Regions from separate parts of the Homo sapiens genome. Here all the other regions are linked to region 1. The links are contacts of gene promoters, found by promoter capture Hi-C in blood cells and fetal thymus (Javierre and others, 2016). All regions are on one chromosome and are shown on one strand. Each heading gives the region's core, a stretch centred on a gene start or on the middle of the fragment in contact. The rest is flanking DNA. Distances are from core to core; before and after follow the strand shown.

Region 1 (4,963 bases), core at 925-3,424:
GGCTGGGATGAGGGGAGCAGCCTATGACAACAGGGCTACTCCCCAAGTTTTCACCTGGCTCACCTGAGAGATGTGTGAAAATGGGGGCACCAGGAGGGTAGTTCCCTTACATTTTCTTGGTTGACCTGAGAGGCCTGTGGAGCCTGATTCCCAAGGAGCAAGGTCTTTCCTGGCCTCCCACAAATGGCACCGCTGGATCTGCCCCATGATTCCTGCGGAAACCAGATGGAGGTTTGGCAGTGGTTTTCTCCATCTATGCAAACAAGCCCTGGCCCCTGGCGCAGTCTTATTAAACTCCCCAGGGGAGAGAGACCTGGGAGAGCATCTGGCGTCTCCAGACTCCTGCCCCTGTTGTGACTGCCACACCTTATGCCTGAAATTCCCTGCTACTTGTGTAGACCCTTTGTGAGGCCCTCTTTGTGCATTCTCTTCTTTCTAGGTCCCATTCCTGCGTGGGTCACTTTTGGACTTGTCTAAGTGTCATCGTAATTAGTCTTCTGAGTGAGGATATCGTATTGCAGTAATGACCCTGGGTTTTCCTCAGCAAAAACCCAACTAGGGTTTCTTCACCTCAACAGAAATGTATTGAGCATCTATTATATGTGCGGTTCAGTCTCGAGTGCTGGAGAAATGGAGAAAAGCCACCTGATTTTACTTCTATCTGTCAGGGTGGTGCTCATGGGATGCTTGTGGGGGGGCATGATGCTGTGACTTCAGTTTGCCTGATTCCCCAGATGGCTTCATTTAGAGGCTGGACCCTATGTGGGTCTTCGGAGTAGCCATGGTGTCCAGCAGTGCCAGCAGGAAGCAGACTCCTCAACAACTCTGCCCCGGCATTCAAGGACCTCCTGAGTTCAGACTCACCCAGCCTGGCCAACCTCAACTCCTATCAAATCCTAGGCCCCCTGCAACGCCTGGCAGCTCTCTCTCTTGAACACATCAAGCTCTTCCATCCTCTGGATTTTTGCAAGGCCTATTTCTGCAGTCTCTCCCCTGTCCTCACCTCCCCCTTCCTTACCTCTTAAGTGATTCATCCACCTTTCTGAGAGCTTTCCCAAAGGCCACCTTACAATAAATTATTTCTTCCTCTGTTGGATCCCTACTTTGTTGTTACACATCTATTCATTGAGCGCTCTGTGCCCGACACTGTGCTGGTTTCCTAAAACTCATCCAAGCCTCTTGCTTTCTGCCTGGAGTGAAGAGTAGTTCACGTTCTGATTCTCAGTGCCTCTAGGGCTGGAGCGGAATCTTAATGTCTGTGTCCTCGTCTCTCACCACCGCGTTTTGCACTTTGTCGAAAGGTGTCAGATGGTGAGATGGCTTCTAGACTGGGCTCTGCCCACTAATTAGCTGTGTGGCCTTGGGAGAATCATCCGGCCTCTCTTGCTGCCCTTCTTTCCGATGAAATAATGCTGACGATGATATTTCAGGGTTGTCCAGGGGTCAATGAGGCGGGATAGAGGGAAGCATCGTGAAATCTGGGAGCCCCAGGCCAGCGAAAAATGTGGAAGGGCCGTACCCGCACTCTCCTAGCACTGGGTGTGAGGCAGCGTCGTTTCCCCTTCGCGCTCTTCGAATGTCAAGTGCACCAGCTTCCAATCCCTCCTCTGGGCGGGCCCGGTCTGGCTAATCTCAGCTGCAGATTCCAGTACAAACTCAGGACTCTCCCCCGCCCAGCCGCCCCTACACAAGGACTCGCCGAACACACCTTGAATCCCGCGCCAGAGCGCAGCCCGGAACTGCAGCTCGCGGCGCGGGCCCAGGTCGGGGGTCGCGCGTCTCCAGTCGGTGACTCAAGGCCGCTCGGTCCGGGGGTGGGTGTGGGTCGGCAGGACCGACCAGGGCCGCGCGGGGGCAGCTGCCGGGCGTTCGGTCACCTAGCGGTGGGAGCCGAGGCTGGCTTTGGCCAGTCGCCATTCCGCCGCGGGCGTCTGTCTCGCCGGGTTCCCGGGCGCGGGAGGAAGGCCCGCGCCGCTTCCCACTCGGCGCGCTTCTCTCCCAGTGCGCAGTGGCCTGGTGGGTCAGCCGGCGGCGGCTGGAGCGCGGGGCCGGCCCTGCGCACGAATGAATGGGCGCCCGGGGGACGCGCGCGCTCGGGGCTGAAGGGCATTAGGACCGTGAGGATCGCTCCGCGATCCTGTCTCTCCCTATCACCCCCCCGCCCCCCCACCTCTCTCCTTTTTCTGCTCTGCAGGACTGAGCAGCTAGGCGCGAGCGAAAACAAACAGCTGGGGCTGCGAGCGCCCCCGCCCCGGCCCCGAGAGCACGCCGGCCCAGTCCCCCACCTGGGGCGCCCGTCTGCCCACCATGAGGAAGATCCGCGCCAATGCCATCGCCATCCTGACCGTAGCCTGGATCCTGGGCACTTTCTACTACTTATGGCAGGACAACCGAGCCCACGCAGCATCCTCCGGCGGCCGGGGCGCGCAGAGGGCAGGCAGGAGGTCGGAGCAGCTCCGCGAGGACCGCACCATCCCGCTCATTGTGAGTACGCCCCGAGCGTCGGCCGGCCGGCTAGGGAGCCGCGGCGCGCGTCCAGACCCTGCGCGGCGGCCGAGGGCGCGGGGCCCGGCCAGGGCTGAGTGCCCGCTGCGCCGGGCCGGCTTTGTATATGTTGGAGCATTCCTGCCCGTTGTTATGGCAACCTCTGCCGGGCGGCGGGGCTGGGGCGCACCGACTAAGGGAGGGTGACAGAGGGTGGGGGCTGGGAGAAAGTGCTGCAAGTTTGGTGGGCCCGGCGTGCGCGCGCGGCTGGGAACGTGGCGGCTCTCCCGGCTCTGCGCTGCCGGGGCCGGGAGTCTGGGGGCTGCGGGAGCCTCGTGTGCCCCGGAAGGCTGCCGGGCCCAGCGCGCGGCGAGCGGGCGGTGGGAACCACTCGCAGCCGAGCGCGTAGGTGGCAGTGCGCAGCCCCTCTCCAGCCTTCTGGGGGCAGAGGACATCGGGTGGGGGCGTGGGTAGGGGAAGGCTCTCTAGGCGCTGCGCCTGGCTTCGAACCCCCTTCTGAGCCGGGTCAACTTGAACCCGCTTCTTCGGCGCGGACACCCAGCTTCCCCGGAGTTCTCTGGGTTGAGGAGAGGTCTCGCACTGTACGCGTCTCTCACTCCCAACCTTAGGGTCCGCCACCACGGGTAGGTGGGCAGTGTCAGCGCCCGAACTTGGCGATACCCTTGCATGAAGTCAGCCTCGCGACATCTAAGCGGGCAGGGAAACAAAGGCAGTGTGGCACAGCGGGGGCGGCGGCGGGGCTGCGGGGGCCCTTGGCGCTCTGGGGACCCGGGCGGGGGCGTGCGGAGCCGCAGCCGCCCTGCAGGGGGCGATCCTGTCGCCGTCTCCGTCCGAGCCCCAGGTGACAGAGCTGTGCGTGGCCAGGCAGGGGCACCTGTTGAGGCGGGAGGCTTTGGCACCCGCCGAGAGTGCGCTCGAGCGGGCGCATTCTTCCAGACGGGGGCGGTTGGTGGACGAGAGCCTCGGACGACCCTCGGGAACTACCAGGGCGGGGCAGCCTGGCCGGATGAGGACCAGGAAGAGGAGAGCCGAGTGGGGCGGGGGTAAAGGAGTGAGGAAGCGTGGCGATTCCGACAAGGAAAGATCTGGGCCTGGGGGTGGAGGGGTGAGGAGATCCGCGGGGGAGGTGCAAGGTCCGGAGGGCTGAGGCTTGTGTGGAGCCGAATCCGAGAAACGCATCCAGACGCGGATCTGAACCCCAGGAATATCGGGAAGTTCATTGGAGAGTGTCCCCTCATATTCCCATCCTGCCCCAGATTCCGAGTCCCCTGCAAAGGAAACATTATTTCAGGGCTTTGCCTGAGGAGACCTGGGGCGGGGGGGTGAGGTTGTGGGTTTTGTCCTAGATACCAGTCTGGGTGAACTCTCTGGGGGCAAGCCTGATTAGGTGCACTGTTCCCTTCTGGGCTGTTCTCCCAGGACACTGTTTCCAAAGCACTTGTCGCCCTTTGGACAGAAAACTGATAAGGAAAAGCCTCCTGTGCTGAGGCCCCAGAGTGTTGTGATCTGAGCAGAGGGACAGGTTGGAGCTGGAACTGTCCAAACCAGCAGTGGCCTCCAGACCCCAGGGAGCTTCCTCTCCAGGAGCCCAGGCTGCCACATTCATACTCAGTGGCAGGAAGAGCCCTAGTCTCAGGCAAGGCAGGCTGGCCAGATGCTCTGTCCCTCTTTCTGGTGAGGCGATGAGAAGAGGGTCTGAGTTGGAAGGGGCGGAGAAAGAGGCTGGGCAGGGAGGAGAGGAGGGAAGAGAGCACAGGAGACTGCTGCTCAGAGCCTCTGCTTTGGAACCCGGAACCTGAACCCTGACCTGGCCCATGCACCTCTCTCCTGCTCCTTCCAGAGTCCTGTAAGATGCACTGGGAGGGCCGCTCACATTTCTCAAGAGTCCCAGAATGGTGTAGGGGACCTGCTGGAAGGATTCAGCACTCATTTTGAGGGGTGGGAATTGGAGGTCATGAGAATCACCAGTAAACATCCTCTTGTCCCTGCTTATTCCCACAGGGTTTGACTTGCTGCAGGTAAGAAAAGGTCTCAGAGCGGGAAGCTAAGTTTAAAGTATGAAGGAGTATCAGGGAGATACCTGGGAGCTGGGAAGTGAAGGTGCAGGAAGAAAGGGAGAATGGAAGTCCCTGGGAGTGGCAGAGCCTTCTGTGGCCACTTAGGGGCACAGCCAGCTCCCTCTTTGTTCTTAAGCTTTAGATGCCTGTTCCACCAGCACTGACCCCCCCGTCAGGCACCACTTTTGACAACTGCCTTGCATTGTTTCATTGTATTCCTCTCTTCCAGTTATTTCTTCCATGTGATTTGCAGCTGAATGTAAGTGATGCATGCGGGAACTGTGCTGGAAGCTCCTTGCATCCCCACATTGATGCACACAGCAAGATTTCTTTTTTTCTTTTTTTTTTTTTTGAGATGGAGTCTCACTCTGTCACCCAGGCTGGAGTGAGGTGGCATGATC
Region 2 (4,963 bases), core at 923-3,422, 310 kb after region 1:
TTTTTTTTTTTCAGGGTTTCACTATGTTGCCCGGGCTGGTCTTGATCTCCTGGATGCAAGTGATCCTCCTACCTTGGGCTCCCAAAGTGTTGGGATTACAGACATGTACCACCATACCCAGCCCTGTTTTTGCCTTAATTCTACTTGGCTATGTGGATTTTTGTTTTTTGAAGAATCTAAAAGTTTCTGCGTTTACACAGTGCATCTCTCTAAGTGCAAACTTCTAATTTGGTGAGATTCAGGCCTGGGCCTTTGCAACACATGATACCATAATTTGTGCTTTTCAAGACTACTCCTTTCTGCACCAGGTCATGACAGTACATCACACTCTGTAACCACGGTACAGTTACCTGACCCTACCTGTTTATAGCAATTGCACCTTTGGTTCCAGAGTTGTAGAAGTGGGGAACCCATCTGGATTCTGATTCATTCTCACAGTGCTTGTGTGACAGACAGGGCAGAAATCATGATCCCCCATTCTACAGGTTGGGGAAACCAAGGCACAGAGAAGCAATCAACCCAAAGTCACTCAGTAAGCCAGAAAACAAACTAGGTAAAGGTCCAGGCAAGACCACCTATGTTCCTTTCAGTGCCTTATCTGAAAAATCAGATTGTCTCCTCCAATGAATGCACATACTTTGGAAGTAAGTAGTTTTAAAGCGGAATTTTCTATGGTTTCAAAAGCCCTTTACCAACTCAAGAACCACAAGGTAAGAACCAGAATCACATTAACCTTTTAGTTAAATGCTTCTGACTCATGGATAATACCAATTATTTCAACTCACTGACAACCTGGTTATCAACAAGAAGAAAATTTAAGGAAAAAATTCACCCATTCAATAAAAAAACCTCGGTAAACAGCTCCTTTCCTTGTTTCATGATATCTTGAGCCTAACACCCAAGCACTGCTTCCTTCTACAGAATACACCTTTTATATTTGTTGGCATGTGATGGAGTGGGGGTGAAGGGTTGACAAAGTGTGTGTGTATGGATGTGTGTGTAATAATCAGCCATTTCAGGGACAATTTTACCCAGCAGAATATATATGAAATATGTTTAATGTAGCAGTTCTCTACCCTGTTTCCATTTTTTTTTTTTGGTAACATTTTATTCCTGATCCTGGTTTAATGTAAAAAGTGATGTTTTACTTCCCACCTTCCTTGATGAAGGCAGAGTCAATGGGTGGATATGGCCGTGGGGCAATTTCAGCTTAATGGAAGGGAAGCACTCTAAGGGTTAAAGTTGCCTGATGACAACTGAATGTGACCTTTTGGACCACAGAGTGACCTGGTATTGCAAGTATTTCACCCCAGAGGCTAAATGACCATCTGTCCACGAGGCACTGCCCTTTCCAACACTAGGGAGCCATATTCCCAGAAAGAAACTAGGCTGACAGCAATCCTCCTGCCTCCCCCTCCAGGTCAAGAAAGGCACAAAAAGGACCAACAAATAATACTGACATGGTGCTTTGGATCCAGGAGGCCTTGCGGTACCAGGAGAGGAATACTGATGGTTCCATCTGGCGAATGGGAAAGGTGAGGCATTGAGAGGGTGAAATGCTTTCAGGCATAGGTGAGGGGGTACCAGGAAATTTAAGGGGGAGACTCTTTTTCCTGGGGGCAGGTGGAGAAGGTACACGACCACTGATAGTGAACACAACTCTCAACAAAGGCAATTCCAGCTCTTCGGCCACCACAGTAAAGCAGCCAAGGATACCCTAATTGTCCTCAGAGAAGTAGAGATGATTCCTTCACAGAGGGAATCCTACACTCCAAACTCTCTGGGGCCCACCCTTGAGACGGCATGCAGGGCTGGAGATTTAGGCAGGAACAGCCTGGGCAGGCACGTAAGGTAGCTCTGCTTCTTAAGGCATGACTGCTGTCTTCATGGAGTGGGCCCCACCCTGCAAGGAAGCTTAATGGAATGGAACACTGCTCCCAAAGGAATCCAGCCCCTCCAGGGGCTGGGGGTTTCTATTAAAGCTAAACAGCATCACCAAACCAACCAATTTCCTGTGCCACTTGGTAGAATGAGGGAGGGGGCAAAGGACAAAAATTGAACATTATCTGCAGATGACTGTCTAACTAGAAAACCCAAGGGACTAAACTGGAAAACTATCAAAACTGGTGAGAATTTGCTCAGGTGGCCGATTAAAAGGTCTAAAAAATCAACTGCTTTTTGGATCATTTGGGCGTGGCTTGACACCTTGGAGGAGCTGTGTTTCTCTGGGAGGCCTCCGCGATTTGTGCAGCTTGCCATATTTTGAAAGATGGAGGTGAGCCAGGGTGATGTTCCCTCAGCAGTAGCAACACTGTCTCAGACACCAATGTCGAACAGGTGCCTGGGGCAACTGCTGCAGAAGGGGTGGGGACAACCACCTCTGCCCTCTCCTGGGGGGCCCTCTCACCAGTCCTGATCAGCCCCTTTCCCCCAAGCTTCTCTATTCCAGCCCAAGAGACACATAGGGAAGTTTGGCAAGGGTCGGTGCGGGAGCCATCAAGGGTGGATGTGGGCAGATTGTGCTGTCATCTCCAAATGAAGTAAGTTTTAAAAACAAAGGGGGCCAGCTGACAGGTCCCAAACGTCTGTACTGTTGTTGCCTCATTGGTCAGAAGCCTCGAGAGGCCACCGCGCTGCGCACCGAGCGGGGACTCCCACGATGGTCAGTGGTTGAGGGAGGCCCCAGGGGGCTGTGCGTGCCAATCTGGCTGGCAAAGAGCCGCAGTTATTTGCGGTCCAGGCTGGCGTGTAGCTGGGCCTCCCGCACCATGCGGTCGAAGGATCGCGTGTTGGTCTCCTCGCGCACCTTCTCACGCACGTGGAAGGAAGCCCGGGCTGTGGAGCGGGCGCTCTCCAGCGCACTGCGCCGTTCCCGCGTCAGCTGCTCGCTGCGCTCCAGCTTGCGCCCGATGGCCTGGAGTAGCTCTCGCCGGCGGCAGTCTTCGTCCCTCTCCACCTTCTCCTTGTTGGCGCGCTGGGCTCGTTCCTTCTCCAGCCGGCTCTGGCCCACGCGCCGCGCCTTCTGCTGCACTGCTTCCTCGGCCACCTGCGTCGCGTGCTGCAGCCGTCGCTCCCCCGCCCGGGCCAGCGCCTCCAGGTGCGCCTGATGTTCCCGCTCTTTGCGCTCTGCCGCCTCCTTGGCCCGCCGACCCTGCAGCTCCTCTCGCCGGGCCCGCTCCCGCAGCTCCCGGGTGCGCTGCTCCACCAAATGCTCGTAGTTCTCCTGCGCACGGCCCAAACTGGCTTCCAGCGAGCTCCGCAGGCCCTCTCGCTCCTGGCGCTGCTGCCGGGTCCGACCCTGTAGCAGCGCCTCGTGGCGCGCCCGCTCGGCCCGGCTCAGCTCCCGCTTCTCCCGCTGCAGCTGGCCCTCCTGCCGCTGCTTGGCGCGGGCCGCGCGCTGGGCGCGCTCCCTGCGGATCTGCTCAGCCCGCTCCCGCCCTTCCTGTAGACCTTCCTCACGTTGCTTCAGGTTCTGCTCCTGCTGAAGCTTGCGCAGCCGATCCTCCCGGGCCGCGCGCTCCGCCCGCTCCCGCCGCAGGAGGCCCTGGCGTTCGGCCAGCTCCCGCCGCCGCTCCTCGCTGCGCTCGTACTGCCGCTGCCGCCGCCGCGCCGCCTCGCGCTCTTCGCGGCCACGGCGGCCTCGCCGCTCCTCCACCTGCGCGGCCCAGGCTCGGCGGCCCTGCTCTAGGGCGCGCTGCTTCTCCCGCTCCTCGCGCTCCCGCCGCTGCTTGGCGTGCACGCGCTGCAGCTCCCACTGGCCGTGGGCAGCCGCGCGTTGCTCCAGCAGCAGGAGCTCCTCCTGGTGCCGCGCCAGCATGAGCGCCGCGATCTTCCGGTCACGCTCCGGCACCCCGCGCAGGCCGCGCTCTGCACGCACTTGACGCACGATGCGCTCCACGTGCTGAGCGGTCTGCGGCGAATGGCTCAGGTCGCCGAGGCTGAAGCTGCGGCCGGTGATCGGAACCAGGGTCAGGGCAGACGGGCGGCCCGGAGCGTTGGTGGTGGAGGACGCCGACCCCGCTGGGCAGCTGTTCCTGGCCGAGGCCCGAGGCGGCCAGCGCAGCTCCCTCAAGCTTTCCCCACTGTAGGATGACGACGATGCGCCCGACTCGGAGCTGAGGGCGCCCTCACGCCGGCGGGACAGTGAGTCCAGCGAATGGCTCTTCCTGCCTGTTCGAGAACCCGCTGGCGGAGGTTGGGTCCGGGCGGAGGAGGGACTAGGGGAAGCCTTGCGGGCCGCACGCGGCGCGGGCGAGGCCGGGAGGCTGGCGCTGCTGCAGCTGCTGCTGCTGCCCGCGCTCGGGGCCGAGGCCGCGGCGGCGGCGGCGGCGGCGGCGGCCGCGGGGCTCAAAGGCGTGAAAAGACGCCGCTTCTCCTCGCGCATGATGCGCTCGCGCTCGGCCCGGCATTGCTGCAGCTTGGCGCGCCGCTCCGCCTCGTAGGCCTCATACAGGCCGGTGGCCACCCGCATGGAGCGGCCCGGAGCCTCTCGCACCAGGTCGGCCAGGGCCCGTGGCAGCAGCTCCACCGGCTTGACCGCACAGCGGGCGCAGGCCTCTAGCGAGCGGGGGCTGGTCAGCACGTAGCGGCTGCCCTCCGCCTCTGGGCAGTCGAAGTTGAAGAGGTCGAGGTGCAGCAGCGGGGACTGCTCCCGCCGCCCGCCTTCTGCGGCTGCACATGGGACTTCTGCCTTGCGGGGCACCGCCGCGGAGGCCGAGGCCGAGGCCGAGGAAGCTGCGGGCTCCTGTGCGCCCTGGGAATCAGGGGGCACGGACGCCACGGCCTCGTCCCCTCCAGAGTCGCCGGGTTCCGCTCCTGCCTTCTCTTCTTCAGGCACTGGGTCCACCATGGCTGAGCCCCGTCCTTTGTTGGAATCTCTGCAGATCACAAGGAGGGACATCGAGGAATACGTCTGAGAGCTCTTCCCCCCTCCTCATCCATAGTCACCCCATCCCAACTTAAT
Region 3 (4,963 bases), core at 1,716-4,215, 270 kb after region 1:
TCCTGTGTTACGAGAATTGAGACACATGCATGATGCTTGTGGGCTTGAATACAGGGCTGAGTGAGATGGGCCTTGAAAGGTGAGTAGGATTTTGAAAATTGGGCAGGAGAAGGGAAAGACTTTCCAAGTAGGATGAGGGGACACTAGTGTAAAAGCCTAAGGTGACTGAAGCTTGTGAAGAAGGCAGCAAGGAGCTTGTTACTAACCCAAAGAGGGGCCTTAGCCATGTTCTATGTCAGAATGACCATGGGTTCTAGCAAGTGCTGTCCAGAGAAGACAGGGTGAGGCTGGGGCCCCTTTGTTTCTCCAGTGTTTCCCTCTGCCTGTGGGGTGGCCCTAGGTTTATTCCAGGTGACAGATGCATGTGTACCTGGAGCAAGTGACTCCAACCCCATGTGGCCAGGACTTACTTTCAACTCCAGGCCCCTACTGCTGCTGTCAGGGCCCAGCTGTGCAGAGGGGCTGGCCATTCAAGAGCCCTCCTGAGCCCCATCAGGAAGTGAAGCAAAAGCATTTCTAAGTGCAGAGGTGATTGGTGGGGGGTGGGGAGAGTGGGCACTGCCATACCCAGCCCTCTGTCTCCACAGGGAGCTGGAACTGACTGCAAGATGCCTTAAGGGTGTAGAACAAGAGAAAAAGGAACTGAGGCACCTCACGGAGTCCTTGCAGCAGACACTGGAGGTGAGGGGCTGCTGGTGGGTTAGTTGACCAGGTGGCAGGCTGGTTGGTTGGACCACATGACACTGTTTTTTCCAGCAGTGTTTCCCCAGGGGGTGATCTGTAAGAGAAATGGGCATGGAGGGGTGCTGATCTAAAGGGTCTCTTCTCTATGGATCATTGAAAACTCTGGCCGAGGCATGAGGCCCAAAGCAAGAAGTGTCTGTTCTCAGACCTAAAAGGACAAATTCAGGCTTGTCCTTGCTATTACCATGGCCTCAGGAAATCCACCTCTGGTGCTTACATTTTTATACCAGATAGAGGATTGGTTAAGGTGGGCAGTGGAGCTACCCACCGCTTCCTTCTTGTGTCTTGTTCGCTTAGCTGCTCCTGAGTGACATTGAACGTAAAGGGAAATCAACTGCCAGGTCACCATCATCTGATACCACAGAAACTGGGATGGGGTGGGGAGGTGACAAGCCTCAAGGACAAAGTACAAACTCCTTAGCATGGCAAGCAAGTGAAAACTCTGGCCCTGGTCTCCCCTTCCCTCTCGCCTCACTCTTCCCTTCACTGCTCCTCCATGCCCTGCACAGACTCCCAACCCCTGCTCCAAACCGCGGAGCTCAGGTACTCCAAGGAAGCAAGCTCTTTCATGCTCCATACCTTTTCCCACACTGTTCCTTCTACACAGTGTATCATTTCCACCTTTTCTCTGCTTGGAGAACTTCTATTCACCCTTCTAAGTCTCAGCTCAAATATCTCCTCAGTCAAGCTTCTCTGATTTTCAAGGCAGGTATCTACTCTGAGCTCTTGGCTCCCGTGGCATTTTGTACATATTTTATGGGACTTAACATGCTAGGTGTGTTTTCCAAACTATGAATTTCAGTAGACTGTGTCTTCATGGTCTCTCCAAGCCCATCCCCTGAAGTGGGCCTGGCACATATGGTGTATGGCCCATACCTGTGCTGTACGCATGAATTACCTTCAAGGCTGCAAAGGTTTCTTGTCTCCCTTGACTGACTGGAGCCTTGGAGCTTGTGGGGCCTTTATTCATTTATCTTTCCCTGTTTCACATCATGGGAGGTGGTTCCCATGGATATTTTCAACTCTGCTTCTGTGTAATGCCATTGAGTACAAGATCCCAGTCTGATAAATGGAGAGGACATCTTTTTTTTGGAGGTGGGGTGGGGGGTGGTTTGGGGACAGGTTCTAGCTGTGTTGCCAAGGCTGGGATGCAGTGGTGCAATCATAGCTCACTGCAGCCTCGCTCTGTTTGTGAGAGCATCTAAATATGCTCTTGGGCTGGTTCCTGTTGGGTGTTTTTCACGTAAGCCCACTATGTCTCCTCATTCACCCCTGGAGGAACCAGGACCCCAGAAGATCATGCGACCCCGTTCTAGTAGGTGCCGTCTCCACTGGAAGGCACTTTGGGTTCCTTTATGACTCTTGATGGAGGAGTAACCTTGCCCTGTTGTGGGAGAGATCTGGGCCTTTTAGCTCTGGAGAAGAATGAAGACATTTCAGCGGCCATAGAGGACTGAGAGAGGAGTGGGTCACTCCCCCAAACGGAAAAGCAGGTGAGGGCAGCCACGATGGAGAACCTAAATTGGGCTTTTCTTTTCCTTGCCTCCCTCCATGCCAGGAACTCTCCATAGAGAAGAAGAAAACCCTGGAAATGCTGGAGGAGAACGAGAACCACCTGCAGACACTGGCCAATCAGAGTGAGCAGCCCCCTCCCAGTGGGGGCCTCCATAGCAACCTCCGGCAGATCGAGGAGAAGATGCAGCAGCTCTTAGAGGAGAAGCTCCTGGCAGAGAAGCGGTGAGGGAGCCCCGACCCCTGAAGACACCATTGACTTTGGGGTCTGGGGACTTTCCTCGAACTGGACATCCAGACTCTTGGGTTCTACTTGGCACTGACCAAGTAGGACTCACTCACTTCCTTTTGCCTAGGACTCTGTTTTCCCACCAGGAAAGTGGGAAGAGAACTTTCACTACCCAAAGCTGGCTTGATAATTATCTTGTGCAATGGTGTGAACCATGCAGACTTATTAAGTCCTTGTCACCATGCTTTGTGACAGGCTGGGCAAGTTTTTAAGCCCCCTTTTACAAATGAGGAAATGGAGCCTCAGGGGGGTTGTATGACTTTTCTGAGGTCACAGAACAAGCAACCTCTGGACCCAGGACTCCAGTCTTCTGACTCTAAACCTAGGGCTCCCAGCACTGACCACACCATCAATCTCATCCCCTGGGTGCCTGGACCCACAAAGTTCAGGGGCTCATAAAGCCTGGGATTCAAGGTTTCTCCAGCCCAGGTCTCTAAGAGGAGCTGTCCATCCATTGGCAATCCCATTTGGCGAGTGAGCATTGAGAAAGTGCCTCTTCTGTCCCTACAGGATGAAGGAGAACGAGGAGCGCTCACGGGCCCTGGAGGAGGAGCGTGAGTTCTACTCCAGCCAGTCCCAGGCACTGCAGAACTCGCTGCAGGAGCTGACGGCAGAGAAGCAGCAGGCTGAGCGGGAGCTCAAGGTGCGACCTGGCCTGCTGGTGCCAGGGCCCTTCCCCTTCCCTGGAGACTCCCCTTCCACCCCTGCACTTTACCGGGTAGCTGCATGAATTATCTCTGTCAGTCTGACCAGACAGCCAGGCATGGGGGATGGAGCCACCACGAGGGGAAGCAGCAAGTCTGCTGCATCATTGACAGACACCTGCTGGGTGCAGGTGCCAAGTCCAGTCCATCTGGTTCAAAGGGTAAGACTCAGAAGCGGGATGTGATAACTCCCATCCACGCCCATTGAGCCAGGGGTGACCAAGGAAGGCTTCCAGGGAAGATGGCAGCTACTTCCAGGACCTGACTTCCTTCTCATTTCCCTCTCCTCAACCTCAGGCTGAGGTGAAGGTCCGCATGGACCTGGAGAGGCGTCTCCGGGAGGCAGAAGGGGCCTTGCGAAGCCTGGAACAGGGGCTGAATTCCAAGGTGCGGAATAAGGAGAAGGAGGAGAGGATGCGGGCTGATGTGAGCCATCTGAAAAGTAAGCCCTGCCTCTAGGCCCTGGCCCCCAGCTTTGGCACTCAGCCCCAGATGGGATCCCGGCCCTGTAGAGCCAGGAAACCCACACAGGGTCTGCTAGGCATGAGGTGCTCCCTGGATATTGAAGGGTTTCTTCTCCAGTTACCTGCCTGCAGGCATCTCAGCACCACTGCTTTCTTGTGGCTGTTGGATCTGTGGTGAGAGGAAAGCCAGGAGCTTCTTCCATTTATCAAAAGCTCAGAGCTCTGTTCTCAGCAGACGTGCCCTGAGATGGCTGCAGATTGTGGTTTGAAAGGCAAAGAAAGTCCCCTTCAGCAGGTGGCTCTGGAATCTCGAGGGACGGGGTCAAAATATTTCCCACTCAATCTCACCAGGATCCTTGGGAAGGGAGGGACTGGCTGGGGGTAAGGATGCAGTCGGAACCCCACCCTTCCTGGCCCTGCCGCCACAGGGTTCTTTGAGGAGTGCATCCGGAATGCCGAGCTGGAGGCCAAGATGCCTGTGATCATGAAGAACTCCGTGTACATCCATAAGGCAGCCACTCGCCGCATCAAGAGCTGCCGCTTCCACCGACGCCGGTCCAGCACCTCCTGGAATGACAGTGAGTGTGGCTGTCTGCGTGCCCTGGTGGGATGGTGACAAGGCAGGAAGAGGGCAACATGGGGAGCCAGAAGGGTTGGCCCAGCTCTGAGGCTGGAGAGTGTGGCCTTGAACCTGGCCCCACCATCCTTGGGCAAACGGGTGAATTCTCAGGGCCCTGGGTTTCTCAAAGGATATGGAAGCCCGTGTGTGTGGGAAGGGGCTGGAAGAAGCTTGGCACACATAAAGGAGTGAGGGGGTGGCATGAGGCTGGGGACAGGGCCAGGCCTTCGTGGAGGGAGCACTGTTCACAGGGCTGTTGGGCTCCTGTTTCCCCAGTGAAGCCGTCCCAGTCCTTCATGACCTCCCAGCTGGATGCCAACAACATGGAGGAGCTAAAGGAGGTGGCCAAGCGGCTCAGCAGGGACCAGCGCTTCCGGGAATCCATCTACCACATCATGGCCACCCAGCCTGGAGCCCCCTCGGCACTCTCCCGGGGTGGAAAGTGATGGGCGCTCCTCCCCTGCTTCCCAAGTCTCCCCTGGATGGGCGGGGGAGGGGAAGGGGTGGCAGAGGGAGGCCTCACTCTACCAGCTCCTGGCCTCTCTGGTCTGGAGCCTATGTCTCCTCTGGGCCGGAGCTCCACTTGGGGGCCAGCCTTGCCCTCAAAGGACATGGACGCTGCCTTCCTCAT

What was found. The method cuts DNA at HindIII sites, captures the fragments that hold promoters and counts their contacts. A CHiCAGO score of 5 or more calls a contact.
Region 2: a contact is called between a fragment that was not itself captured here and the fragment with the promoter of GALNT16 in region 1, in 3 of 17 cell types (total CD8 T cells, naive B cells and naive CD8 T cells). The highest score is 6.9, in total CD8 T cells.
Region 3: a contact is called between a fragment that was not itself captured here and the fragment with the promoter of GALNT16 in region 1, in 2 of 17 cell types (M1 macrophages and M0 macrophages). The highest score is 5.6, in M1 macrophages.

Annotation. Positions count from the first base shown.
Region 1 is chr14:69,257,984-69,262,946 of GRCh38, forward strand. GALNT16 (polypeptide N-acetylgalactosaminyltransferase 16) reads left to right here and starts at 2,175. Exons shown (of 15, transcript NM_001168368.2): 1 at 2,175-2,484. The coding sequence starts at 2,308. It overlaps GALNT16-AS1 (GALNT16 and EXD2 antisense RNA 1), which reads right to left and starts at 2,544. Exons shown (of 4, transcript NR_184249.1): 1 at 2,307-2,544. RefSeq lists a silencer at 3,221-3,280. The HindIII fragment of the contact is 12,811 bases long and covers 1-4,696 here.
Region 2 is chr14:69,568,774-69,573,736 of GRCh38, forward strand. CCDC177 (coiled-coil domain containing 177) reads right to left here. Exons shown (of 2, transcript NM_001271507.2): 2 at 1,026-4,877. The coding sequence starts at 4,849. The coding sequence ends at 2,726. Among named protein-coding and RNA genes, the nearest start is that of CCDC177, 3.6 kb to the right of the region's middle. The HindIII fragment of the contact is 521 bases long and covers 1,913-2,433 here.
Region 3 is chr14:69,523,642-69,528,604 of GRCh38, forward strand. PLEKHD1 (pleckstrin homology and coiled-coil domain containing D1) reads left to right here. Exons shown (of 13, transcript NM_001161498.2): 8 at 588-681; 9 at 2,303-2,481; 10 at 3,056-3,188; 11 at 3,547-3,691; 12 at 4,142-4,291; 13 at 4,609-4,963. The coding sequence ends at 4,778. Among named protein-coding and RNA genes, the nearest start is that of PLEKHD1, 41 kb to the left of the region's middle. The HindIII fragment of the contact is 3,070 bases long and covers 1,431-4,500 here.